4 separate regions of the Homo sapiens genome follow, and all the other regions are linked to region 1. The links are contacts of gene promoters, found by promoter capture Hi-C in human tissues and cell types (Jung and others, 2019). All regions are on one chromosome and are shown on one strand. The core of a region is centred on a gene start or on the middle of the fragment in contact, and the rest is flanking DNA. Distances in the headings are between cores, read along the strand shown. Region 1 holds the start of TRMT11 (tRNA methyltransferase 11). Region 2 has its middle 310 kb from the start of MIR588. Region 3 holds the start of LOC105377993 (a long non-coding RNA gene). Region 4 overlaps LOC102723341 (a long non-coding RNA gene).

What was found. The method cuts DNA at HindIII sites, captures the fragments that hold promoters and counts their contacts. A contact is called where the count stands out against the background at its distance.
Region 2: a fragment that was not itself captured here is called in contact with the fragment with the promoter of TRMT11 in region 1 in 1 of the 25 tissues and cell types used here (mesenchymal stem cells).
Region 3: a fragment that was not itself captured here is called in contact with the fragment with the promoter of TRMT11 in region 1 in 1 of the 25 tissues and cell types used here (lymphoblastoid cells).
Region 4: a contact is called between a fragment that was not itself captured here and the fragment with the promoter of TRMT11 in region 1, in 1 of the 25 tissues and cell types used here (thymus).

The regions. Positions count from the first base shown.
Region 1 is chr6:125,984,751-125,988,300 of GRCh38, reverse strand. It overlaps TRMT11 (tRNA methyltransferase 11), which reads right to left and starts at 1,761. Exons shown (of 13, transcript NM_001031712.3): 1 at 1,679-1,761. The coding sequence starts at 1,750. RefSeq lists enhancers at 878-1,707, 1,241-1,730, 1,708-2,538. The HindIII fragment of the contact is 9,309 bases long and covers 1-3,550 here.
Region 2 is chr6:126,796,418-126,799,967 of GRCh38, reverse strand. No RefSeq gene overlaps it. Among named protein-coding and RNA genes, the nearest start is that of MIR588, 310 kb to the right of the region's middle. The HindIII fragment of the contact is 6,690 bases long and covers 1-3,550 here.
Region 3 is chr6:126,716,436-126,719,985 of GRCh38, reverse strand. All of the region lies in intron 3 of LOC105377992 (a long non-coding RNA gene), which reads right to left. It overlaps LOC105377993 (a long non-coding RNA gene), which reads left to right and starts at 2,576. Exons shown (of 3, transcript XR_001743837.2): 1 at 2,576-2,653. RefSeq lists a silencer at 711-820 and enhancers at 901-1,040, 1,051-1,130. The HindIII fragment of the contact is 7,584 bases long and covers 1-3,550 here.
Region 4 is chr6:125,413,484-125,417,033 of GRCh38, reverse strand. All of the region lies in intron 1 of LOC102723341 (a long non-coding RNA gene), which reads left to right. Among named protein-coding and RNA genes, the nearest start is that of HDDC2, 110 kb to the right of the region's middle. The HindIII fragment of the contact is 8,096 bases long and covers 1-3,550 here.

The sequences.
Region 1 (3,550 bases), core at 512-3,011:
CAGTGATTACTAAACCAAGCCACCTGGCTTCTCCTACTAAAACTCAACATATTCGCTTTAGCAAAAATCACCAATTAATTATCTTCTAATTGAGACTATCAATGACACTTTTTCATTCTTTTCTCACTAAAAAGCAACTGCATTCGACATTTATCCATTTGTCCCTGCTTCCTAAAACTTTACCCTTCTGATTTCTGCGGTCTCACATCCTTCTGGCACTTGCCCATCTTCTTCATGGCCTCCTCCGACTTTCCCTTAATATCAATGCTTCCAAGCATCTATACTTGGCCCGCTACTCTTTTGACCTTATCCTTTGAGTAATTTCTTCCCCGCTCCTAGTTTTCATATGAAGAAGACTCCCAAATATTTATCACTAGTCCAGATCACTCTGCCATACTCTATGCATATTCATATATCCACCGCCTCTTGGTCATCTCAGGTTGATGTTACACAACCACATCAAATTCAGTGTAAACAAAATTTAAATCTTACATCTGCCTATGTTCTCTATTTTAAATGGAGACACTCCTACCTATATACACCCCAGGAGTCATACCTGACTGGTGCCCCTTTCCCACATATTCAATCAATCCAGCCTTAATGACTGTATGGCCTAAATATTTTCCCAGTCTATCCCATCCTCTTACTCCTTGCCCTAGGTCAGACCTTCTTAATCTATTAACAAGACTATTCCCACAGACTCCTAGTCTCTGGCTCAAGTCTTATTCTTTTCAAATCCATCCTCCATAGTGTTGTCAAACTGATTTAATTTTGTGGTCACTTTTTTACTTAAGGCTTTTCAATAAATCCCCCTTCCAAGCTCCAGGGTACTCAAGGTTTTCATTTTCTGGCCTCGATCTACTTCCCTTGCTCTCTTCTTACCACTCTGCCACATAACTAGTGATCCAGTAATAATGAACACCTTGTAATTCTAATTTACTGATTTATCTCCTTGGCCCTCTAACTCCTATTCATCCTTTATTTCAAGTGTCATCTCCTCTGGAAGCCCTCTTAAAGGCCAACATCCCCAACCCCTCAGGTAGATTAGATTTCCCTTCCACGTGCTCTCATATTTCCATGTGCATCTATCACTGCACTTACCGACGCTCTTTTGTCATTCTACGCCTATGTGTCTGCTCAGCCCTTACTCTAAACAGTAAGCTCCTAGAGGGCAGAGATTGCTTACATCATCGTTACATGCCCAGCGTACCGATCTTCGACTACATGCATTCTGAAAACGTTTCTTGAATAAATAAAACACTCTTCTCAACTTCTCCATCATCTAATCCCCACCACCATCCCCTCCACTGAGCTTGATCCGCAGATTCCAATACTTCAAACACCAGCCTGAGCATTTGTTAGCTGTCTCTATTCTCCGCTAGACGAAGAGCTCCGGGAGTGAGATGACCGGTCATATTCACCTGCCTAACTCCGGTACTTGATACACGGGCAAAAGAATGAAAAGTTTAAGCAGGCCGAGGGGTTTGGTCTCGGACTTCTCTCACACACACCCTCCGCCAAGCTCACCCCGCCCGAGGACTGGGGACGCGTGACCCGCGCAGACCAGCGAAGACCCCCGAATCCCAGCTTCCTCGGGCTATGCAGATCACCTCCACCCACTCCACTCCACTCCAGCGTCCTCTTCCGTCGGAAGTTCCGGAGGGCGCTACGGACTCACCGGCAGGCGGAACTCCAGATGCTCCTGCGCCATGAGGAGCAGATACCTGTTAAGGGTACACGACAGCGCCATTGCAGCTGCCCACCGTGCGCCTGCGCGGCCCGCGCTAGGTCCCTCTTTCTCCCTCCCAAAGCCCAGTCTCCACAGAGACAGAGCCTGAAGGGCCGGAAGCGGAAGCTCTGCGAGGCAGGCGCTATCCCGACGTTTCTCGCGCTCCGAGTCCGAAACTCCGGCCGCTGTGGGAGGGGCTTCCTCACCTGTGAATGCCTGGTGGTTAGGGGTCTCCCAGCGCTGGTAGCTGGTGAGCGGGGACGCGTGGCTTTCAGGAGCAGCCTGTGATAATAAGACAGTATATTTCCAAGTTATCGTTCCACTTGGAGTGTGCTTCCAGCTTTCTCTACAGCCCTTCAAAACCTGTTCTTCAAAATTGGACTGAAATTTCACCATTTCCTTGGAAATTTCACCATTTCCTTGTAGGTTTGTCTAACCAGCACAGCTTTGGGAACTGATTTAGTTGGGCCAGTCATTTAACAGTATATTTTTCGTATTTATGTAACAACTTTTCGAGAGCACATGCCTTATAACCCAATTATAATAAACTCTTGAGGTCTGATATAATCTTTTATGGTTCACTCTATTCTTAACAAAAACCAAAAGAATATCTTCCTCAAAGTAGGCAATAATTATTAGGTTGTGTTATTTGTTAGACTCAGGACTAAATCCACAGCCAGCCATAAATTAAAACTTGGAGAAAGCTCACACTGGCACAGATTTCATAGCAGATAGTTTATGAAATATATTTTAATTGCATATTCTATGTATATATGTGACTTTTTTTTTTTAAGACAATCTTGCTCTGTCACCCAGGTGAGTGCAGTGGCGCAATCATAGCTCACTGTAACCTTGAACTCCTGGTCTCAGGGGATACTCCTACCCTAGTCTCCCAAAGTGCTAGAATTACGGGCTCAAGCCCTCCCTCTGGGCTATTTCTGCTTTTGAGAGTACCGAGCCCTTTGCCCTATTAAAAATTATTTATTTTGCATTTCTCTGTGGTATTGTACAAGGTGCAAAAGAGTATGTATCTGGCATATCCCCAGCGGCATGTGCCAGAAACGTAGTTGATGCGCAGTGGTAGTGATTAAGAACATAGGCTGTGGTGTCAATATTAGATTCAAACCTCACTTCCACCATTTACCATGTATATGCTCTTAACCTCTCCGAGCTTGAGTTTTCTTTTAAAAATGGAAAAACACACTGCCTCCTGCAAAGGATTGTTACAAGGATTAAGTGGAATAATGTTCATAAAGTGTTGAATATAACATCTGGCATATTGAATGGGGCCAATAAGTGGCACTTGACATTTTTCTTAAGAAAATCACATGAGAATTTTTGTTAGCAAGAGATCTGTTTTTGTTAGGAATATGTCTCAAGTTCACTTGTGCTAAGTGACTCTGAGAAGCATAGCTGTCTCTTGACCCCAAAACTTCAGAAAAGGGGGTAAAAGTACTTTGAGACAAGAAAAGTTGTTTACTATTTGAGAAGAGAGGCCAAGGTTGGGACAGAAAACCAATGAGATGTTGGGGAAATGATGTGCAGTACTTGATATGCCCCATCCCCAGAACTTGTCAAATCTTCAGCAAAATTAATATGGAATTTTGATGGGGCAACTTTATAGAGAATATCAAAGAATTGCTGATTTTCATGCCTGGATTAATATGATGCTATATAGAGACAAATGAGACTACAAGGCCTGGAGAACCCAAATGGAATCAGGTGTCACTGATTTTTCACCCAGCTCCTTTGTGCTACAGTTCAGGACTAAATCTATACTAAATCTCCACCTCAGAAACCAGCAGGAGAGTATTTACATCA
Region 2 (3,550 bases), core at 507-3,006, 810 kb before region 1:
CCATGTCTTAGCTACTGTGAATAATGCTGCAATGAGTGTGGGAGTGCAGATTTTTCTTTGGGATACTGATTTCATTTTCTTTAGATATATACCCAAAAGTGAGATAGCTGGATTGTATGGTAATTCTATTTTAATTTTTTGAGAAACCTTCATATTGTTTTCCATAATGGCTGTACTAATTTACATTCCCACCAACAGTGCACAAGGGGTGCCTTTTTTCTACATCCTCACCAACATTTATCTCTTGTCTTTTTAGTAACAGGATGAGGTGATATATCTGATTGTGGTTTTTAACTCCCCTTCCCTGAAAATTAGTAATACTGAGTACCTTTTTATATACTTGTTGGCCATTTGTATGTCTTCTTTGGAAACATGTCTATTAAGGTCTTTTGCCCATTTTTAGATTAGGTTGTATTTTTTTTGCGCTTGAGCTGGGTGAGTTTCTTATATACTTTGGTTATTAACCCTTTATCAGACACATGGTTTGCACATATTTTCTTCCATTCTATAGGTTGCCTTTTGATTTTGTTGATTATTTCCCTTGTTGTGAAGAAGCCTTTTATTTGATATAGTTCCTCTTGTTTACATTTGCTTTTGTTGCCAGCATCAAGTTCTTTTTAAGACCCTTTTGTTTCTGGCATTGTGTTTCTGTGATTCTGACTATCTCCTTAATGATAATTTTATGCCTTATATTTTACCACCTGCTTTTAACTTTTGCCATCTACTTTTCTCTCTATCTACTGGTTTCTATAAGCTCTGCTTTTCTTTGCTGACTTTTCATTCACTCAATTTCTGCCTTGATTTTGCCATTCCTACCTTCTGGCCAAGTAACCTCAGACAAAGGAAAATAAATCTTGGGGCCCCAAATCACTAAACTAAAGGAAAAAGTCAAGTTGGGAATTGCTTACGGCAAAACTGCCTTCCATTCTATTCAAAGTTACCCCTCTGCTCACTGAGATAAACGCATATCACATTGTCTCCTTTGGAAAGGCTAATCATAAACTCAAAAGAATGCAACCATTTGTCTCTTATCTACCTATGACCTGGAAGCCCCTGCCTCGCCTTTCCAGACCAAACCCATGTTCATCCTACATATGTTATGGATGTCTCACTTCTCCCTAAAATGTATAACATTAAACTGCTCTGACCACCTTGGGCACATGTTGTCAGGACCTCCTGAGGCTGTGTCATGGGTGTGTGTCCTCAACCGTGGCAAAATAAACTTCCTAAATTAACTGCGACCTGTCTCTGATATTCAGGGTTCACACCCCAATATTCTTGGCTGGGAAATTATCTCAAGCTCTCAGAATTCTTGAGATAATGGAAACGTCTATGGAAGCAATTATTCATTATTTGGTATTCATCATAAAGATGGCCCAAATTAAAAAACAACAGCTAAGACAATGAGAAAACATTCTTGTTCACAGAGAATGGGGAAAAAATTGGAATAGATTTACTGCTTAGATTTTTATTGAATATGCAAATTATGATAGAAATTTGCAAAAAGAATTTTAATATGCTGTCTCGATATAACTGAAAACTGCTTCCTCTAAAAAAGTTATCTAAAAAGAAAAAAGTGCAGATAAATGTTTGTGTATATTAGTGGTAAAATCAAGGTTAAAAGTTAAGGTATAGTCGGTAGAAAATTATTATATAATGTAGAAGAGAAAAGGAGTTATATAAAAGATTTTCATTATCCATTGTTTATCCATGTGTTGTTGAAATGTGGCTTTGATATGAAGCCAATGAAGTTTGCATTTTCCACATTTTCTTTCCAGTGAGTAATTAATCCCCACAATTTATTAGTCACTTCAGTTTCAGAGGGCCTTGTGACACTAAACCACCTTCCCTTTCGAAACAGTGAAAGATAAAAGAATCTTTTGCATTTTATGGCATATTAAACTTTAGAGTAAATATATTTTAATCTACTTGAAGTTCCTTTTCATAAAAAGTATTGTTATCTTTTCTTTTCTTTTCTTTTCTTTTCTTTTTTTTTGGGGGGACAGAGTCTCACTGTGTTGCCCAGGCTGGAGAGCAGTGGTGCTATCTCGTCTCACTGCAATCTCCGCCTCCCGGGTTCAAGAGATTCTCCTGCCTCAGCCTCCTGAGTAACTGGGATTACAGGCGCCCACCACCAAGCCCGGCTAATTTTTGTATTTTTAGTAGAAATGGGGTTTCACCATGTTGGTCAGGCAGGTCTCCAACTCCTGACCTCGTGATCCACCCGCCTCGGCCTCCCAAAGTGCTGGGATTACAGGCGTGAGCCACTGCGCCTGGCCATATTGTTATCTTTTCATACTATGACCACCATAACCTATATCTGACATTTTGAGACACATCTTAAACTATCCCATTTTATTTCTACTTCCAGTAATATGTATTACCAAAACAATATTTTTAAGGTTTATTGGAATGACTTCCAGTGGCTCTTCGGATAAAACACAAATCCCTACACACCCAACAGCCCGCATGGACATGCATTGTCACATTTGGCTCTTGCTTCAACATGGGCCTCTCTTCCCTTGCTCTCCTCACACCAGGTTCTTAGGTCTTCTTTCTGCTCCTTTTCACTGGAAGGCTATTGTCCCTGTTGTTTCCCTTGATTGTGTTCTTCTTTACCCTTCATAACATCCTTCTATTCATGATTATTTCCTACTCTTTTAAGTCAGGCTAATGGGATATTAATTAGAGAGCATAAATATCCTAATTTAAAATTACCTGACTATCTGCCTCCCCTTCTACAATGTAAGCTCCATAACTGCAGGGACCGTGTTGGTCCTGTGCAGTCCTCTATAGTCAGAGCTTAGCATGGTGCCTCCTACAGGGTAAGGACTCAAAAAATATTTATTCAATATAGACATGAACAAATACATGAAGAATGAATGGAACAATTGAAATTCATCATCTTTCTGTTAATTTATAATTTTCTTTTTTTCCCCAGTGTTTTTACTTTCTTATGCCATAGTGACGTTGGAGCTGGCTGTCATAAGATGTAGTATTTGTCAAAATGGGGTGCCAGTTGATGCTTATGGAAAAAGAATTAGAGAATGGCAAGCATGCTGATCTCGTTGTTCTTCCCCACTAAGTCCCTGAAAGAGAGATGAATGCAGAGAATAATGCCAAATAAGGGGTTTAACCCAGGTTTTAGTGAGAACTTTCAAAAGCCAGGATATAAGCAGAGGAAATTCCTTTTAAGTAGGCTAAATTGGTTTAGATGGCCTAAAATTAAAGCAAGTCAAAAGCCTTGATTTCTCTTCCCCTATCAATTCACTAGAATCTTGAATCTTATTATTCCAGTGATAAAAAGACCAGTCAAGAGTTCTCAGGCATCGAGAAGAAAGCAGATAAATGAAAGATCTTGAGCAGGCACAGTGGTCTAAGAGTATTTCTCACAAAGCCTAGATGGAAGGAAGTGGCTGGAAGGGAAGCCAGTGGTGCCAGTTGAGATATAAACTTTGAGAAACCATTGCTCTAGTTTATATATAGGATTTCAGGTGACTCAAGAACAGAGGTCTAATGAATCTCTATCTTTCATAGGACTCTTAAAAAA
Region 3 (3,550 bases), core at 561-3,060, 730 kb before region 1:
TAGTTGCAAGAAATACTTTACAAAACTAACTTTGTCAGTCATTTTTTTTTAAAAAAGAAAACCTGTCCATGTTGTTTTAATAATTTGGTAAAAAAATTCCGTTTGCTTAAACTCTTCCATTTCCCGGTTTGATCACTTTCCATTATTCTATCATGAGAAATATAGAAAGAAAAAATGAAAGCATCCTCTTACCTGGACTTTATAAAACCTAGACATCATATAAAAATAAACATCTGTCTTAAATGGAGAAGAAAAACAAGAATTTGAAATCTTTAAAGAAGCTAAAAATATATTTTTTATTATCATTTAGATTTACAATTGTTAAGATATGAAATATATAAAAATAAGCAATTCAAAGGAAACACAGTTTGTCGAGGTGATTGTTGTTTTGGTTTGATTATTTTGTATATATGAACATGTATACATATATATGCATATATTTTTATTTATTTATTAGAATAAAGCAAAAGGTAGAAAGGCAGAGGTTGTTTGGGAAAAGTACCCCAAAAGAAAACAATTATTTCCAATATATTTTAAGATTGAAGAGAAAGTATTGATTTGAATCATTTTCCCACTGGTTCATGGAAAAAAACAACTCATAAAATGAGTTTGATGGGCACAAAGAATTAACTTTGACCTTTCTTTGGCTTCAGAGGATCCAGGTCAACTTGGAGAGACTGGAAGTGTTATGACACAGGAGAGGCCAATGGGACACAGCCCCACACTCAGAAAACTGCTCCCTCTCACACAGCCAGCCAGCAACAGCCTTTCACAGTGATGTTGCTTCTCTTTCTATGTCAGGGTTAAGGTCATTTTTAGGGCACAGCGAGGAAATGTAGAGGCCCGGGCTGTCTGCACCACATCTGTGCTGTGAGAAACAGGGGGTTTCAGTTTCCAGCCTCTGAATATCACACAACCTAACCTTTACCTGCCTGCCCTCACCCTAGTACACAAAAAGCATAAAAATAAAATTAGACGTTTCAGAGTATGGACTAGCAAGGTCAAAGGTAGACATTCCTGAAACACATTAGGACCTTAGGACCTTCAGAAAAAGGTAACCGATACAGGCAGAGCCTTATTATTCAGCTATGATCATACAGTCTCCTGTTTAGTTATTTTACAGGATAAGAAAGGGTTGGGAGGTGAGTGTGTAGAAACTATATTTCAGTTACTGTTTTGGTACATATGGGGGCAGAAATCTCAGGTTATTTATAAGTATACAGGTTACTGAGGGCTGTATTTGCAAATATAACCAGTTTCTTATCATCTAGAGCTTATTCTTATATTTACTTCATTAATCACCAATCACACTTCTGGAATATAGAACAGAAGCAGTGAAATTGACATTGGAAGGGACATAAAGAGAGGAAGCATTTTACTGTGTGGTTCTGGAGCTAGTGAACTCTTAGAGAATAGGAACCCAATAATCTTACTCATAAGTATAAAAACATCATTAATAAAAGCTAGTATTGACTTAACACTTTTCCTAAGCTGTGAGCTGCCTTTTGCGCTTTCCATGTGGTACTTTGTCAATCCTCATAACATATCTGTGAGCTATTATAATTATTGGCATTTCAATATGATGAGAAAATTGGGACCGTTTCTTCATATTTAATATAATTTTTCTATATTGACCCACAAAGTAGCTGAATATTCCCAATGTGTTCATGGCATTCAAAAACAGCAAGTGCTATTGCCCATTTACAATGAAGGAAACATGTCACTAGTGGTGCTTGTGATGCCCTTGGGTTTCTCTGAGATTGTACAGATGTAAGTTCTTGATTTACTAAGCCATGCTAACTGAGAAATCTTTTAACTGAAAATAGTAATAAAGAAGGGAAAAATAACCTTTAGAAATACGACATAAATTGGTGCAGAAAGTGGTGCAGAACCAGGCTATGGGTAGGACAAGAGACAATTATCAGTGAGGTATGGTTTAAGGGGCAGTGGAAGTTTGCTTACACCAGACATTTACCTCCAGTTCAGGCTTTGCAATTAGACAAAGCTAGAATCAAACACTAATTTTATTATAGCTATTGTGACTGTCTTTGAGCAGAAGTTTAATTCGTCCAAAAGTTGCCGTGAGAATGAAGCTAGGCAATGAATGTCAATACTTTGAATGTGACAAGTCTTCCAATACATTTTGTTTCCTTTGTTCTCCTTTTCTAACTTGTCTTCCTTCCTGTGATTTAAAGTGAGGGTTTAAAATGAGGAATTTTCATATAATGAGTGATAGAAACATATGAAAGTATTAGAACCTGCCCTTGGAAGAACCACTATCTAATGTTATACTTTGTGACCTAGAAAAGGCTTTCAGCTCTTAAACATTTTCCAATCATTTAGATATTTATTCAGGCTAACAAAAATAACAAACTCAGGAATCTATACAAATAATTAGCTTGTCCAAAAATGGCACTACATTTTACATTGTATTAGGAAAGAGAAATTGCAATACCATAATATTGGTCAATGTTATTTATTATCTCTTGGTCTTTTCCTGTTTCTCACCAGGTTCCTATAAAGTTCCTGATAGTTGAAGAAAGTCAGGAGATCTTAGAAACTGACTTTCATTTATAACCTGCTGATTCACCTAGATCAGGTTACTGGGAAGAAATCCAAGTCAGACCTCCTGACCTACTCGAAACAGCATGAGGTATGCCCTGCCACTAAATCCTGATTCCTGTGTACCTCACCCTGTCACTAAATATGATTTAGAGAAACCTTTAGAAATCAGGTAAAAGGATTTAGTGCTTTACATGTAGGTTACAGCTGCTGGACTAGCTTTTATAGTAACGTAAGTAAGTAATTTATTAAATGGCTCAGTCATTAGATATACCAGGCCTTTAAAACATTCTTGTGAGGGAGGCTACTCTGGGGAGTGAGAAGATTAGCATTTCTCAGCAGCAAGTATTTTTGACAAGATTAATGAGGCACAGGGCAGAGGGATCTGTTTCCCCCTTTGTGTCTGCTCTCCTGGTTTCCTTGCCCTTTATTTGGTTGTCTTTTCCTCTGTGGCACCTGCTGTCACCGACATGGATGAGATGCCAAAACAGCATTCCTTTACTTCAACACTCTTCACACCTTCTTCTTCCCCCTTCTTTCTCCCCAGGAGTTATTCCTTTCTCCTCTTCTGGGATTGGCAAGGACATTATTTTAGTTTTCAATAAGAAATGCCTGATAGGCATTTTCACATTAGAAGAAATAAAATTAGGAACAAGATCAGAAACAGTTCTCAGTGATTCCTTTTATAAAAGGAAATCAGTTATATAGGAGATCATTTTAAAAGTACATATCTGTTCTAATACATCTTGTGTGTTCTTTCAGACCCATCACCATCTCTATGGTACCAGTTTTGCCTGTTAACAGGATATAATTTGCTTCATATACTGATCATTTGATAGAATGTGTATGTTCTCATTTTTTTTCTCATGTTCTCAGGAACAAAAGCAGGACAGACACTGCCCTGCTTTTGTAAGCTTACTTTCCTTCAAAAAGAATTATATCGTGCAGACTAATAACAAGTGTACTTTCCTTTAACAAAGTCCCCAAC
Region 4 (3,550 bases), core at 487-2,986, 570 kb after region 1:
TGCCTCAGCCTCCCGAGTAGCTGGGATTGCAGGCGCACACCACCATGCTCGGCTAATTTTTGTATTTTCAGTAGAGACAGGGTTTTGCCATTTTGGCCAGGCTGGTCTCGAACTCCTAACCTCAGGTGATCTGCCTGCCTCTATCTCCCAAAGTGCTAGGAAATCAGGTGTGAGCCACTGCGCCTGGCTGAGAGGATGATTCTTAAAAGAGTGATGATAGACATGGGTAGGTAACCAGGACTGTCAGAATAATAACAATGCTGAATTGGGTTTCTAAGAAGCACCTTTGCTAAGACTGGTTTTCATTCTAGGTGGGCTTCTTATGTGGTTTTCCTATCCTCACAGCTTTAAGAACCCTGTTGAAAGTGACTCCTATATCTGTATTTTTAGATCAGAACTTCTCCAGGCCCACATAGCCTACTGGCCCCTCCATGGGCGCCTCAAGCCCAATACCATTAAACCCACATGTTTTCTTCTCCCTCAAACTTATGCATCCTCTTGCTTTCCCCATTTTGCTTAAGGAATTTAAGTACCCAAGCCAGTCTTTCCTAACTAAACTACTTCCTCATGGGTAAACATCATGTTTTCCTTTTCTTTTTATCTTGTTAGCTCCAATCCTAGTAGCATGCCTGCCATTTAGTAGATGCTCCAAAACTTTTTAGCTAAATAAATTAATAAAAAAAGAATAAGATATGATAAGACTTCTCTATTATTTAGAGATAGCTAGAATGGGTCTTGCTTGAAAGAAAAAGAATGAAGTAGATGACCTCTTAGGATTCCCTCCGGCAAAATATTAAAAAAGAAAAGAAAAAAATGTCTTTGCCTTGTTTACCAAGAGAATCACAGGCTGACTTGTGGTTTTCATGGTGTTTTACAGTTAAAAAATGTTTCTTTTGTTTATATTTCATTTCTGACCCATTTAATAAAGTAAGTTAGATGACTAATTGGTGTTGATGCAATACAGTTAGTCATAGACATTGAATCTATGAACTAGTTTCTTAGTTCAAAGATTTGGTGTTGTCCTAAGTATCAATAATGCAACTTTGATCACAAGACATTCTGACCTAATTATTATATTCTTCTGGTCATTTCTTTTCTGTAGGACAAAGCCAAATGCAGTGCTTATAATAAATAGTCTCTTCTCCACAATGCCATATTTGCTCAGAATATCCCATCATAGAAAAATGTGATGGTTCATAGAAAGGACATGAGGGGCTGAGTGTGGTGGCTCACACCTGTAATCCCAGCACTTTGGGAGGCCGAGGCAGGCAGATCACGAGGTCAGGAGATCAAGACCATCCCAGCTAACATGGCGAAACCCCGTCTCTACTAAAAATACAAAAAATTAGCCGGGCATGGTGGCATGCGCCTGTAGTCCCAGCTACTTGGGAGGCTGAGGCAGGAGAATCACTTGAACCAGGGGTGTGGGGGTTGCAGTGAGCAGAGATTGCACCACCACACTCCAGCCTGGACGACAGAGCGAGACTCCATCTAAAAAAAAAAAAAAAAAAAAAAAGAGAGAGACATGAGGGAGAATGATGTACTTGGCAGCCAAGAACACAAACTCAACCTAATCTAAGTCTGATCTCCTTGGCTTAGAACTAGAACAGGACAATCAGTCTGAGGGCTCAAGGAAATACAGACAATAGTCTGAAAAGACATTAATTACACCTCAGTACTTTTTTGCCTATGGGAGAATTCTGTGTGTTTGCTACATGGAAACATTTGTTTCAATCTAGACATGTGCAGCTCAGGAAGTATGGATGAATGTGATTGCAACGGGAGCGAAGAGGTAGGGAGCTAGGAGAGATGCCAAAAAATGTGGGCACACCATGAGGTCCAATAGGAACCACACTTTAGTCAGAAGATATGGTCCTATGGTCATTCTATTGCATTGACAACCTCCCTATCCCTCTACAACACTCATGTCCTTCACTCCATAAACCTTGACCTTGTTATACGTAGCACATATATTCTTATATCTCTATCTATTAACATATATGTTTCACAGTAGGTTTAGATATCCTGTTGGCTCTTAAGAACCTTGAGGTCAACCTTTATATCTATTTTCTTTTCTTCTGCCCTGGATTACTCTATGATTTGTGGCTTTGAATAAATGTTACTGACTGATATGGTTTGGCTGTGTCCCCACCCAAATCTCATCTTAAATTCCCACGTGTTACTGGAGGAAGCCAGTGGGAGGTAATTGAATCATGGGAACAGGTTTTTCCTGTGCTCTTCTTGTGGTAACAAATAAGTCTCACAAGATATGATGGTTTTAAAAAGGAAAGTTGCCCTGCACAAGCTCTTTTTGCCTGCTGCCATCCATGTAAGACATGACTTGCTCCTTTATGCCTTCTGCCATGATTGTGAGGCTTCCACAGCCACGTGGAACTGTAAGTCCAATTAAACTTCTTTGTTTTGTAAATTGCTCAGTCTCAGGTATGTCTTTATCAGCAGCATGAAAATGCACTAATACACTGACCAAGCTATTTACATTTTGCAATCTCAGAAAATTCTTTATGAGAAGAGTAAGAATTCTATGAAGACCTGTGACTAAAAACATGATGTGAAGGACAGCTCTGGCTAACATGGCTGTGCTGTCTTATTTATGTATAGGAGTTTTGTTTTTGTTTTTGTTTTTGTTTTTAGGACAAAGCTACCAATTTTTAACCCATTTATTCATTTGTTTTTAAAACAAATATCAAGTACCTGAGTATTACTCTTAGTTAAATTCAGAAAAGAAAACTGAGATTTCTGTTTCATATACACCTTATACACACAACCTGAAGGTAATTTTATACAATATTTTAAATAATTTTGTGCAGAAAACAAAATTTTGACTGTGTTTTGACTGTGAGCCATGATAGAAGATCAGGTGTAAAATTTTTCACTTTTGGCGTCACGTCAGTGCTCAAAAATTCTTGGATTTTGGAGCATTTTGAATTCAGATTTTCAGAACAGAAATGCTCAACTTGTGTAAGAGAGAGCAAGCTTACTTTTATATACTTGTATTTCTTTCTGTTAATGTCTTATTCGTGTTCTTTGTTCATTTTTAAATCATTTTTGTTGCTCTTGATTTATAATAGCTCTTTGTATATTAAGAAAATTAGCCCCCATCTGTCATATGCATCTTAAATATTTCCTATCTGTTCTGTGATTTTCATATTCTTATTTCTTATTTATTTTATACGTTATAGAACTTTAATATTATTATCCAGTCAGATTTGTCTTTTTTTTCATTTTGGATTCTTGGTTTTATGTCATCTTTAGGAAATCCTTCTCCATTTCATGATGATTTTGAAAAATCTAGTGCTTTTGTATTTTTAGTGCCTCTTTACATACGTGCATACATAAAATTATTATTTCTCACCACTGCAAGTGAAGTGTAACAAAAGCATGAAATGGTCAAAACTTGAAGGCAAGCACTGGCTCCGACACTTTGCTGTTTCATCAAGCTCTAGTCTTCAAGCTGTTGTCCTCTCTACAAAATGTAGATCAAGATAAACATTTCACAAGGACTTCATGGGGCTTAAATTATATTTGCAAA